Regions from separate parts of the Homo sapiens genome. Here region 1 is linked to region 2. Evidence: promoter capture Hi-C in human tissues and cell types (Jung and others, 2019). All regions are on one chromosome and are shown on one strand. The core of a region is centred on a gene start or on the middle of the fragment in contact, and the rest is flanking DNA. Distances in the headings are between cores, read along the strand shown.

Evidence for each region. The method cuts DNA at HindIII sites, captures the fragments that hold promoters and counts their contacts. A contact is called where the count stands out against the background at its distance.
Region 1: a fragment that was not itself captured here is called in contact with the fragment with the promoter of INSL4 in region 2 in 2 of the 25 tissues and cell types used here (IMR-90 fibroblasts and aorta).

The regions. Positions count from the first base shown.
Region 1 is chr9:5,292,833-5,299,039 of GRCh38, forward strand. No RefSeq gene overlaps it. Among named protein-coding and RNA genes, the nearest start is that of RLN2, 8.8 kb to the right of the region's middle. RefSeq lists an enhancer at 422-964. The HindIII fragment of the contact is 5,390 bases long and covers 904-6,207 here.
Region 2 is chr9:5,228,120-5,234,493 of GRCh38, forward strand. It overlaps INSL4 (insulin like 4), which reads left to right and starts at 3,300. Exons shown (of 2, transcript NM_002195.2): 1 at 3,300-3,600; 2 at 5,535-6,374. The coding sequence starts at 3,405. The coding sequence ends at 5,758. RefSeq lists a promoter at 2,577-3,394. The HindIII fragment of the contact is 9,700 bases long and covers 399-6,374 here.

The sequences.
Region 1 (6,207 bases), core at 2,349-4,848, 65 kb after region 2:
CACAGAAGATGGGTGATTTCTGCATTTCTAACTGAGGTACCTGGTTCATCTCACTGGGACTGGTTGGACAGTGGGTGCAGCCCACGGAAGACAAGCCGAAGCAGGGCAGGGCATCACCTCAACTGGGAAGCACAAGGGGTGAGGGAATTTTCTCCCCTACCCAAGGGAAGCCATGAGGGTCTGAGCCTGAGGAACTCCGGCACAGATACTGTGCTTGTCCCATGGTCTTTGCAACCTGCAAGCCAGGAGATCCCCTCTGGTGCCTACCCAACCAGGGCCCTGGGTTTCAAGCACAAAACTGGGCGGCCAATTGGGCAGACATCAAACTAGCTGCAGGAGATCTTTTTTTTTTTTCCCCATACCCCAGTGGTGCCTGGAATGCCAGCGAGACAGAACTGTTCACTCCCCTGGAAAGGGGTGCTGAAGCCGGGAGCCAAGTGATCTGGCTTGGCGGGTCCCACCTACACAGAGCCCAGGAAACTAAGATCCACTGGCTTGAAATTCTCGCTGCCAACACAGCAGCAATCTGAGATCCACCTGGGACATTCGAGCTTGGTTGGGGGAGGGGGATCCACCATTGTTGAGGCTTGAGTAGGCAGCTTTATGGTCACAGTGTAAACAAAGCCACTGGGAAGTTCAAATTGGGCAGACCCCACTGCAGCTCAGCAAGGCTGCTATGGCCAGACTGCCAGATTCCTCCTCTCTGGACAGGGCATCTCTGTAAAACAGGCAGCAGCCCCAGTCAGGGGCTTATAGCATACTTAAACATCCCTGCCTGATGGCTCTGAAGAGAGCAGTGGACTTCCCAGCACAGCGTTCAAGCTCTGCTAAGGGTCAGACTGCCTCCTCAAGTGGGTCCCTGACCCCTATGTATACTGACTGGGACACACCTCCCAATAGGGGCCAACAGACATCTCATACAGGAGACCTCTGGCTGGCATCTGGGAGGTGCCCCTCTGGGTCGAAACTTCCAGAGGAAAGAACAGGCAGTAATCTTTGCTGCTCTGCAGTCTCTGCTGGTGATACCCAGGCAAACAGGACTGGGAGTGGACCTCCAGCAAACTCCAGCAGACTGGCAGCAGAGGGGGCCTGACTGTTAGAAGGAAAAGAAATAAACAGAAAGGATTAGCACACCCACTCAAAGACCCCATCTGAAGGTCGCTAATATCAAAGACCAAAGGTAGATAAATCCACAAAGATGGGGAAAAACCAGTGCAAAAGGCTGAAAATTCCAAAAACCAGAATGCCTCTCCTCATCCAAAGGATCACAACTCCTTGCCAGCAAGGAACAAAACTGGATGGAGAATGAGTTTGACAAACTGATAGAAGTAGGCTTCAGAAGGTGGGTAATAACAAACTCCTCCAAGCTAAAGGAGCATGTTCTAACTCAATACAAGGAAGCTAAGAGCCTTGAATAAAGGTTAGTTGAATTGCTAACTGGAATAATCAATGTAGAGAAGAACATAAATGACCTGATGAAGCTGAAAAACACAGCACGAGAACTTTGTGAAGAATACACAAGTACCAATAGCTGAATTGATCAAATGGAAGAAAGGATATCAGTAATTGAAGATTAACTCATTGAAATAAAGAGAGAAGACAAGATTAGAGAAAAAAGAATAAAAAGGAATGAACAAAGTCTTCAAGAAATATGGGACTATGTGAAAAGACAAAATCTACGTCTGATTGGTGTACCTAAAAGTGAAGGGGAGAATGGAACCAAGTTGGAAAACACATCTCAGGATATTATCCAGAACTTCCCCAACCTAGCAAGACAGGCCAACATTCAAATTCAGGAAATACAGAGACCACCACAAAATACTCCTTGAGAAGAGCAACCCCAAGACACATAACTGTCAGATTCACCTAGGTTGAAATGAAGGAAAAAATGTTAAGGGCAGCCAGAGAGAAATATTGGGGCAGCCAGAGAGAAAGGTCAGGTTACCCACAAAGGGAGACCCATCAGACTAACAGTGGATCTCTCTGCAGAAACCCTACAAGCCAGTAAAGAGTAGGGACCAATATTCGACGTTCTCAAAGAAAAGAATTTTCAAACCATAATTTCATATCCAGCCAAACTAAGCTTCATAAAGGAGGGAGAAATAAAATCCTTTACAGACAAGCAGATGCTGAGGGATTTTGTCACCACCAGACCTGCCTTACAAGAATTCCTGAAGGCAGCACTAAACATGGAAAGGAACAACTGGTACCAGCCACTGCAAAAACATGACAAATTATAAAGAACATCGATGCTATGAAGAAACTGCATCAACTAACAGGCAAAACAACCAGCTAGCATCATAATGACAGGATCAAATTCACACATAACAATATTAATCTTAAATGTAAATGGGCTAAATGCCCCAATTAAAAGACACAGACTGGCAAATTGGATAAAGAGTCAAGACCCATCAGTGTGCTGTCTTCAGGAGACCCATCTGACGTGCAAAGACACACATAGGCTCAAAATAAAGGGATGGAGGAATATTTACCAAGCAAATGGAAAGCAAAAAAAAAAAAAAAGCAGGAGTTGCAATCCTAATCTCTGATAAAACAGACTTTAAACCAACAAAGATCAAAAGAGACAAAGAAGGGCATTGCATAATGGTAAAGGGATCAATTCACCAAGAAGAGCTAACTATCCTAAATATATATGTATCCAATACAGAAGAACCCAGATTCATAAAGCAAGTTTTTAGAGACCCGCAAAGAGACTTAGACTCCCACACAATAATAGTGGGAGACTTTAACACCCCACTGTCAATATTAGACAGACCAACAAGACAGAAAATTAACAAGGATATTCAGGACTTGAACTCAGCTCTGGACCAAGCGGACCTAATAGACATCTACAGAACTCTGCACCCCAAATCAAAAGAATACACATTCTTCTCAGCACCTCATCGCAGTTATTCTAAAATTGACCACATAATTGGAAGTAAAACACTCCTCAGCCAATAGAAAAGAATGGAAATCATAACAAACAGTCTCTCAGACCACAGTGCAATCAAATTAGAACTCAGGATTAAGAAACTCACTCAAAACCACACAATTACAAAAAAACTGAACAATCTGCTCCTGAATGACTACTGAGTAAATAATGAAATGAAGGCAGAAATAAAAATGTTCTTTGAAACCAATGAGAATGAAGACACAAAGTAACAGACTCTCTGGGACACATTTAAAGCAGTGTGTAGAGGGAAATTTATAGCACTAAATGCCCACAAGAGAAAGCAGGAAAGATCTAAAATTGATATCCTAATATTAAAAATAAAAGAACTAGAGAAGCAACAGCAAACAAATTCAAAAGCTAGCAGAAGACATGAAATAACTAACATCAGAGCAGAACTGAAGGAGATAGAGACATGAAACACCCTTCAAAAAATCAATGAATCCAGGAGCTGGTTTTTTGAAAAAACTCAACAAAATAGATAGACCGCTAGCCAGACTAATAAAGAAGAAATAGAGAAGAATCAAATAGACACAATAAAAAATGACATAGGGGATATCACCACTGATCTCACAGAAATACAAACTACCATCAGAGAATACTATAAACACTTCCACACAAATAAACTAGAAAATCTAGAAGAAATGGATAAATAACTGGACACAAACACCCTCCCAAGTCTAAGCCAGAAAGAAGTTGAACCCCTGAATAAACCAATAACAAGGTCAGAAATTGAGGCAGTAATTAATAGCTTACCAACCAAAAGAAGTCCAGGACCAGATGGATTCACAGCCAAATTCTAGCAGAGGTACAAAGAGGAGCTGGTACCATTCCTTCTGAAACTATTCCAAACAATAGAAAAAGAAAGAATCCTCCCTAACTCATTTTATGAAGACAGCATCATCCTGATACCAAAACCTGGCAGAGATACAACAAAAAAAGGAAATTGCAGGCCAATATCCCTAATGAACATCAATGAGAAAATCCTCAATAAAATACTGGCAAACTGAATCCAGCAGCACATCAAAAAGCTTATCCACCATGACCAAGTTGGCTTCATACCTGGGATGCAAGGCTGGTTCAACATACACAAATCAATAAACATAATCCATCACATAAACAGAACCAATGACAAAAACCACACGATTATCTCAATAGATGCAGAAAAGGCCTTCAATAGAATTCAACACCACTTCATGCTAAAAACTCAATAAACAGGTATTGATAGAACATATCTCAAAATAATAGGAGCTATTTATGACAAACCCACAGCCAATATCATACTGAATTGGCAAGAGCTGGAAGCATTCCCTTTGAAAACTGGCACAAGACAAGGATGCCTTCACTCATCACTCCTATTTAACACAGTACTGGAAGTTCTGGCCAGGGCAATCAGGCAAGAGAAAGCAGTACAGGTATTCGAACAGGAAGAGAGGAAGTCAAATTGTCTCTGTTGGCAGATGACGTGACTGTATATTTAGAAAACCCCATTGTTTCAGCCCAAAAACCCCTTAAGCTGATAAGCAACTTCAGCAACGTCTCAGGATACAAAATCAATGTGCAAAAATCACAAGCATTCGTATACACCAATAACAGACAAACAGAGAGCCAAATCATGAGTAAACTCCCATTCACAATTGCTACTAAGAAAATAAAATACCTAGGAATACAACTTACAAGGGAGGTGAAGTACCTGTTCAAAGAGAACTACAAACCACTGCTCAAGGATATAAGAGAGGATACAAACAAATGGAAAAGCATTCCATGCTCGTGGATACAAAGAATCAATATCATGACAATGGCCATATTGCCCAAAGAAATTTATACATTCAATGCTATCCCCATCAAGCTACCATTGACTTTCTTCACAGAATTGGAAAAAACTACTTTAAACTTCATATGGAACCAAAAAAGAGCCCGCATAGCCAAGACAATCCTGGGCAACAAGGACAAAACTGGAGGCATCGCACTATCTGACTTCAAACTATACTACAAGGCTACAATAACCAAAACAACATGGTACTGGTACCAAAACAGATATATAGATGAATGGAACAGAATGGAGGCCTCAGAAATAAACCACACATCTAGAACCATCTGATCTTCAACAAACCTGACAAAAACAAGCAATGGGGAAAGAATTCCCTATTTAATAAATGGTGTTTGGAAAACTGGCTAGCCATATGGAGAAAACTGAAACTGGACCCCTTCCTTACCTTATACAAAAATCAACTCAAGACGGATTAAAGACTTAAACGTAAGACCTAGGGCCATAAAAATCCTAGAAGAAAACCTGGGCAATTCCATTCAGGACATATGCATGGGCAAAGACTTCATGACTGAAACACCAAAAGCAATGGCAACAAAAGCTAAAATTGACAAAAGGGATCACATTAAACTAAAGAGCTTCTGGACAGCAAATGAAACTATCATCAGAGTGAACAGGCAACATACAGAATGGGAGAAAATTTTTGCAATCTGTCCATCTGACAAAGGCCTAATATCCAGAATCTACCAAGAACTTAAACAACTTCACAAAAAAAAAAACCCCATCAAAAAGTGGGCAAAGGATATGAACAGATACTTCTCAAAAGAAGACATTTATGCAGCCAACAGACATGAAAAAATACTCATCATCACAGGTCATTAGAGAAATGCAAATCAAAACCACAATGAGATACCATCTCATGCCAGTTAGAATGGCGATCATTAAAATGTCAGGAAACAACTGATGCTGGAGAGGCTGTGGATAAGTAGGAATGCTTTTACACTGTTGGTGGGAGTGTAAATTAGTTCAACCACTGTGGAAGACAGTGTGGTGATTCCTCCAGGATCTAGAACTAGAAATACCATTTGACCCAGCAATCCCATTACTGGGCATATGCCCAAAGGATTATAAATCATTCTACAATAAAGACATTTGCACATGTGTTTATTGCGTCACTATTCACAATAGCAAAGACTTGGAACCAACCCAAATGTCCATCAATGATAGACTGGATTAAGAAAACGTGGCACATATACACCATGGAATACTATGCAGCCATAAAAAAGGATGAGTTTATGTCCTTTGCAGGGTCATGGATGAAGCTGGAAACCATCATTCTCAGCAAACTATCACAAGATCAGAAAACCAAACACCACATGTTCTCACTCATAAATGGGAGTTGAACAATGAGAACACATGGACACAGGGAGGGGAATATCACACACCGTGGCCTGTTTGGGGGTGGGGGGCTAGGGGAGGGATAGCATTG
Region 2 (6,374 bases), core at 2,050-4,549:
GAGACAGTAATTGTAGTTTCAAATTAAGTATTCAGATAACTGGTAACAATTAATCAATCACCCATGGGAGTTCAAAGAAAGAAATTCATGGAAAGATACAATGTGATTTCTCCCAAGTATAAAAAAAACCTCCATGGGTGCTCTCCCAAGACTTAACAGTCAACCCTATAGGATGCCTGTGTTTCTCATCCTTCTCAGGATCAATGGAGGGCAGATGTAAGTACATACCTTTGAAGAAAGTTCCTTGTAAACTTCAAACATTGTTATACAAGCCTAAAGTGATGTTATTGGAATTTTAATAGTGTTCACAGGACCTGGTTTAAACATCACTAGTCGTCTTTCTCTAATGAACAACTGATCCATCCACTCATCAAAATACTATGGATAGATACACAAGACAATATAGAAATCAATACAATATATTTTAATGTTTGGAAGAAAAAATACAAATAAATACGGAGTAAGTTAGGAGAAATATTAAATGTGGGAGTTGAGTCAGGCTGGTGGGAAAAATTTAAAGATAGTTATAAGAAAAAGATGCAAACCTTCTTGGAAGGCTGGAGGTGTTGCATAAGCTCCAGTAATAGATCAGGCTGGAGGCAGCCTAATCCTTACCTTGAGTTAATAGCTTAGGGCACAGATACAAAGGAATGTATAGTAGTTTATCTAAATAGCTTGTTTACACATGTGGTCTTAAGACCAACCTTTGATCAACCGCAGGTGCATAATTGCTCTCTACTCGGGAGGGTGGCAATGTCTACACTCTATTGGGCTCATATCTTAGATCCACTTTTCTTTTGCCCTGTCACTTGGGTATACAACCCCTTCCCAGCCTTTAATAACGTGACTGCTTAGCTAGGAGGGATAGATTTACCCCCAGTGGGGTTCCTCAATAATGGCACACATTGGACTAAGGTGCCAGATAACACTACAGATCACTCTACTATCCTCCCATTGTGTGTAAATTATAAATGTTCTAACCCTTAGTGTGCACCTACTGAAACACAATTATGGCTACATCATGGCAAAAGAAGTGCCTTAACAGTCTTAGCTGCAGGTAGCCTCAAAACGGAAATCAAGTCTGCTTTCCCAAACATTCCTTCCTGTGCTAAAGAACAAAGCCGGAAAAATAACGGATTCCACTTTAGCTGGGAGATCTGTCATGGGGAATAAGCTCATAGCCTCCAGTTAGGCAATTATAACATCCTAGACTGGAGCCCCTGTGGCCATTTGTAGGGCAGCCTTACTGATATCCTCATCCATCATGGCATCGATCACAGTTTCATAGCCTCGTCCCATTCCCTTATGATTTGGGCCGATGGGAGGATAGGATATCCCAGACCCCGAGTAAAGTTGATGCCTCCCCAAGACACTTTATGTTGCCTGGGACATCTTAGCACCTCCCTTGACACCTGGCATGGGACATATCATAATTACAGTAACAACTATACTATAACCTTTATTCATAATCACACTGATCAGTCCCTAATTTGCAACTCCATCCATATGTTTTCCTTATGGGAACTAATATTTCTATTACAACCCAAAATTCCATGTTTGTGACCCGGGTGCAAGGACAGGCTTTGTTTGCCTCATGTACCACTAATTACAATATATCTAATTTAAATACTACTAGTGTCATGGTATTAAGGAGACAATCTGAGGCATTCCTACCCGTCAATTTGACACACTATTGGCAAGGTTCCTCTTCCTTTGCCACCTTAGAATGTGCCCTATCCCAGGTCAGACCCAAAAGATTTATAGGCACACTTATAACCTTTATAGTCTCAGCCATAGTCATCCTAGCAACTGCTAGTGTGGCTATAGCATCTACTACCGAATCAGTGCAAACAGCTGCTTTTGTAGACAATTTGGCCAGAAATGTGTCTAATGAACTTCTCTTACAGCAGGGTATAGATCAAGAGATTCTTGCACGTCTGCAAGCCCTCGAGGCTGCCTTGGAATTTGTGGGGGAGCGACAAGATGCCCTAGCATTCTGATAGCAATTAAACTGTGACTGGGAGCATAAACATATCTGTGTCACATTTTTACCTTGGAATCAATCAATACATAGTTGGGATGAGGTGAAACAACACCTCTGGGGAAACTTTCATGACAATTTAACAGCAGACGTAAAGCAACTTAAAACTAAAATTTTAGAATCCCTTCACATGATAGATCTACATACTCAACAAACAGCCATATGGAAAGGTGTGCAAGATCATTTCTCCTGGTTATACCCCCGATCCTGGGGGTCACACTTTGACTGGAAAGGAATGTTACTAATTATACTCATGATTGTCTTACGTTATTTGCTAATTCTATGATGCAAAGCCGGAATAAAAGCAAAACCTAACAAACCTGTTGCTGCACACATCTGTACTCTTAAGTCAACAGAACCCGATGCAAAGAACAGAAAGGGGGGAGATGTGAGAGTTCAGTCAGGCTGGTGGGAAAATTTTTTCAGATAGTTATAAGAAAAAGACGCAAACCTTTTTGAAACGCCGGAGGGGTTTGTATAAGCTCCAGTAATAGATCAGGCTGAAGGCAGCCTAATCCTTACCTTGAGTTAATAGCTTAAGGCACAGATACAAATGAATGTAGTTTATCTAGTTTGTTTACTCATGTGGTCCTAAGACTAATCTTTGATCAACCGCGGGTGCATAATTGCTCTCTACTCGGGAGGTTGGCAATGTCAATTACCTTCTAGTGGTGTTTACTCAAGACCTTCGTCATTTAATCTATGCTGAATAAATGTGAGCTTTGCTGGCTGATCGGGGCCACGGCTGCAACTCTTTACAGCACCCTCCTTGGTGTCTGTAGGTGGCCCGGACCCTCAGCTGGACTGACAGGCAAACTATCTGTGTCAGTGTATGTTATTCATCCGTCGTTGGGTCAGGGTCTGTGGGACAGACCCCCGCAATTAAAAGCTTATATGCCAAATGTTAACTAAGATAATTTCTAGCCAATGAGCTTACAGGTCAGTTCTATTTTTATTTCATCTAAGCAAAGGACATTAAAAATTACCATTATTTTAGTAAGCATAAAAATAGTATTACAGGAGGAAAGTTAAGAAAAAGAAGTAGAACAACCAAATTCAAAACAAGCAAAGTGCAGCAGCACATTGGGAGCAAAGAGGGATATGAGAGTGTGGGTAGGGCAAGTAGGGAGACTAAATAAGAACTGAGGGAGAAAGTTCCTTGTAGGTGGGTGGGAAAGGGGTGGAACTGACACCATTGACGCAAAAGCTGAGTAATAGCCCTAAGCAAATAAATGCCTGATGAAGGCATGCAGAAAGCAGTCTGGAGCCCAGAAGGGACACACCAGCACAGTCTGGTAGGCTACAGCAGCAAGTCTCTAAAGAAAGGCTGAGAACACCCAGAACAGGAGAGTTCAGGTCCAGGATGGCCAGCCTGTTCCGGTCCTATCTGCCAGCAATCTGGCTGCTGCTGAGCCAACTCCTTAGAGAAAGCCTAGCAGCAGAGCTGAGGGGATGTGGTCCCCGATTTGGAAAACACTTGCTGTCATATTGCCCCATGCCTGAGAAGACATTCACCACCACCCCAGGAGGGTGGCTGCTGGAATCTGGACGTCCCAAAGGTGAGAGCCCTGGACTACCAAACAATCAGAATGAGGCCTGAAAAAACAGGCTCCAGATCTCATTGACTGCCTGTAGTCAACTCAGACTCTACTGTGGCTAGTGCCTACAAGTTTGTGGTTTTTCATTGTAATGTGCTTTTATTAAAAGGGTCTCACCAGAAATCTCATGGGAAGTTGGGGGTAGAGGAGAAGCTGCAGGAAAAACAGAAGAACAGCCTCACCTTGGAGGCTCTTGGTGCCTTTCCCACCTGGCAGCCAGAGATACAGGGTGGAGAAAACAGGGAATCCTCAGAGAAGGTGACTATTCTCAAACACCAGCAGGAGGTGAGGTGTACTCCCAGACCCCCAGGAAAGCTGGGCAGGCCAGAAAACAGGTGTGATTGCAATGAGATGCCTGGGCCAGGCATCTTCAATTAAGAAGAAAGGGGACAAACAGTGAGGTGATGAGCTGATTATCATTTCTGTTTATGCACCTATTGGCCTAGGGGCAGCACACTGAGACCTCTGTTAGGTTCCTGGAATGTGAGATAAAGGGGGCTTAGATTTAATAACTCTCATCCTTTGTCATTAAGCTGGGCAGTGGTCTATGTCACCAAAAACGTCCTCTTACAAAAAAGTTTTTTTTAATGCACACCAACAGAGCACCTTGCCTCCCATTTCTTTGAATCTACTCTTGTAGTGTGTTGAGAGAGATGAGATGAAGAGAAAGAAAGTGGCCTGGATGACTAGAGGGGAAATTGAAGGGGACCAGAGACAAGGGAATTTCACTGTTCAGACCATCATAGCTGATTTGATTAGTGTTTTCAACATTTGAGACTGCAAAGCATTTTCTTTAAAAGCAAGATTTCAGAATTGAGGAAAGTTCAATACCAGGATAGTTTTCAAACTTTACCAAGTAACAAGGTATTCATAAAGATAAATTGCCAGCTAAGTTAAAACTAGCAGGGGCAGTTTCGAAAAGAGATAGAGGCTACTATATTCTGTCTAATAGGTCGTATTAAGTTCTGAAAAGCTAAGTTAAATTACTAAACATTGTTTTACATTTAATACAAATGACACAGGTTTTGAACCAGCAATGTGTGACTCCAGAACTGCTTCTTGTAACCCATATGCATACACTTCATTAAATCATTAAATGACTCTGTTTAAAGTTATCGTGCACAGTGAATGCACTTGGATTTTGTGTGATTTATATAACGATTTCAAAGTTATTTCCTTTTTTTACATTATTAGTCAGAGCTTGTTTCATTTTACTATAAAATAAGGGAAGAATACCACAAAGTCCAAACAATTTCTAATGCAAACTAAGGAAGAGCATGCTGTACTATAATTTCTATTTAAATTTCACTTTTTTTCAGTAAATAAGTGAAAATCCTCATTTAAATACTTTGACAAATATAGATAAATTTAACAAGAAAAATGGAAAGTATTCATGGATAACAAATGTTAACATTTGGTGTCGACACATATAGATGTATGTTGCTTCTCAGCCTTTTAGCTAAGATCCACTGATATAGATGTATAGATTTATGTGGATCAGATTTGAATATCTGAATCTTTCTATTAGAATAACTTGTGATTATAAAAAAAATTCCCTATTGCTATCCAGTACATAATGCATTGAGGTTATCAATCAAAACAGTGTCAGGGAGAGTCAAAAGTGGTATGGTATAGGCATTTAGAGGGTCATTAGAAGAGTGCATAGAGGGGACAGGATGAGGAGTTAGCATATCCTTAATATTGTAGTATCTTAAAGTGCCCTACTCTAAGTAAGCTAAGTTGTTGAAATGTTAGGATACTTGCTGATTCTCTCTGGTGTTTAATTACATGGAGGCAATGGGTACATTGTGGTCTAGGCAAATTGTATAATTTTTCTGATCCTCTTTCACATGAATGTTTTTCCTCACCTTTCATTCCTCTCTTTTACTTCACAGAAATGGTGTCAACCTCCAACAACAAAGATGGACAAGCCTTAGGTACGACATCAGAATTCATTCCTAATTTGTCACCAGAGCTGAAGAAACCACTGTCTGAAGGGCAGCCATCATTGAAGAAAATAATACTTTCCCGCAAAAAGAGAAGTGGACGTCACAGATTTGATCCATTCTGTTGTGAAGTAATTTGTGACGATGGAACTTCAGTTAAATTATGTACATAGTAGAGTAATCATGGACTGGACATCTCATCCATTCTCATATGTATTCTCAATGACAAATTCACTGATGCCCAATTAAATGATTGCTGTTTATTAGAACATGAGAATCATTATTAGTATTCACATGTTTCACTTGCTCTGTACTAATATAGTCTCTCCAAATGGAGGAAGTTAGATAGATGGAATAAGTTCTAGTAGTTGATAGTACAATGGGGAAATTATACTTAACAATAATTCACTGTATATTCCAAAATAGCTAGAAGAGAATTGTAATGATTCCAACACAAAAAAGATGAATGTTAGTTTGGATGCATATCCCAATTACCCTGATTTGATCATTACACATTATATACACGTATCAAAATATCACATGTACTACAAAAATGTGTATAACTGTAATATGTGAACTACAAACTTACTGGAAATAAATTTTTAAAGTTTTACACACATAAACACATACGTTCACACACACTCACTCAAGTCTCTTCATTTTTCCTCTTTTCACACTAGAAGAAATGTAAGAGATAAAGGATCTAACCATCTCTAACATCAGCTCATAGTACGGAGGAAAAGCAGTGAAGGAATGAACTGGTGGGAGAGGTATTAGGCATGTTCACCC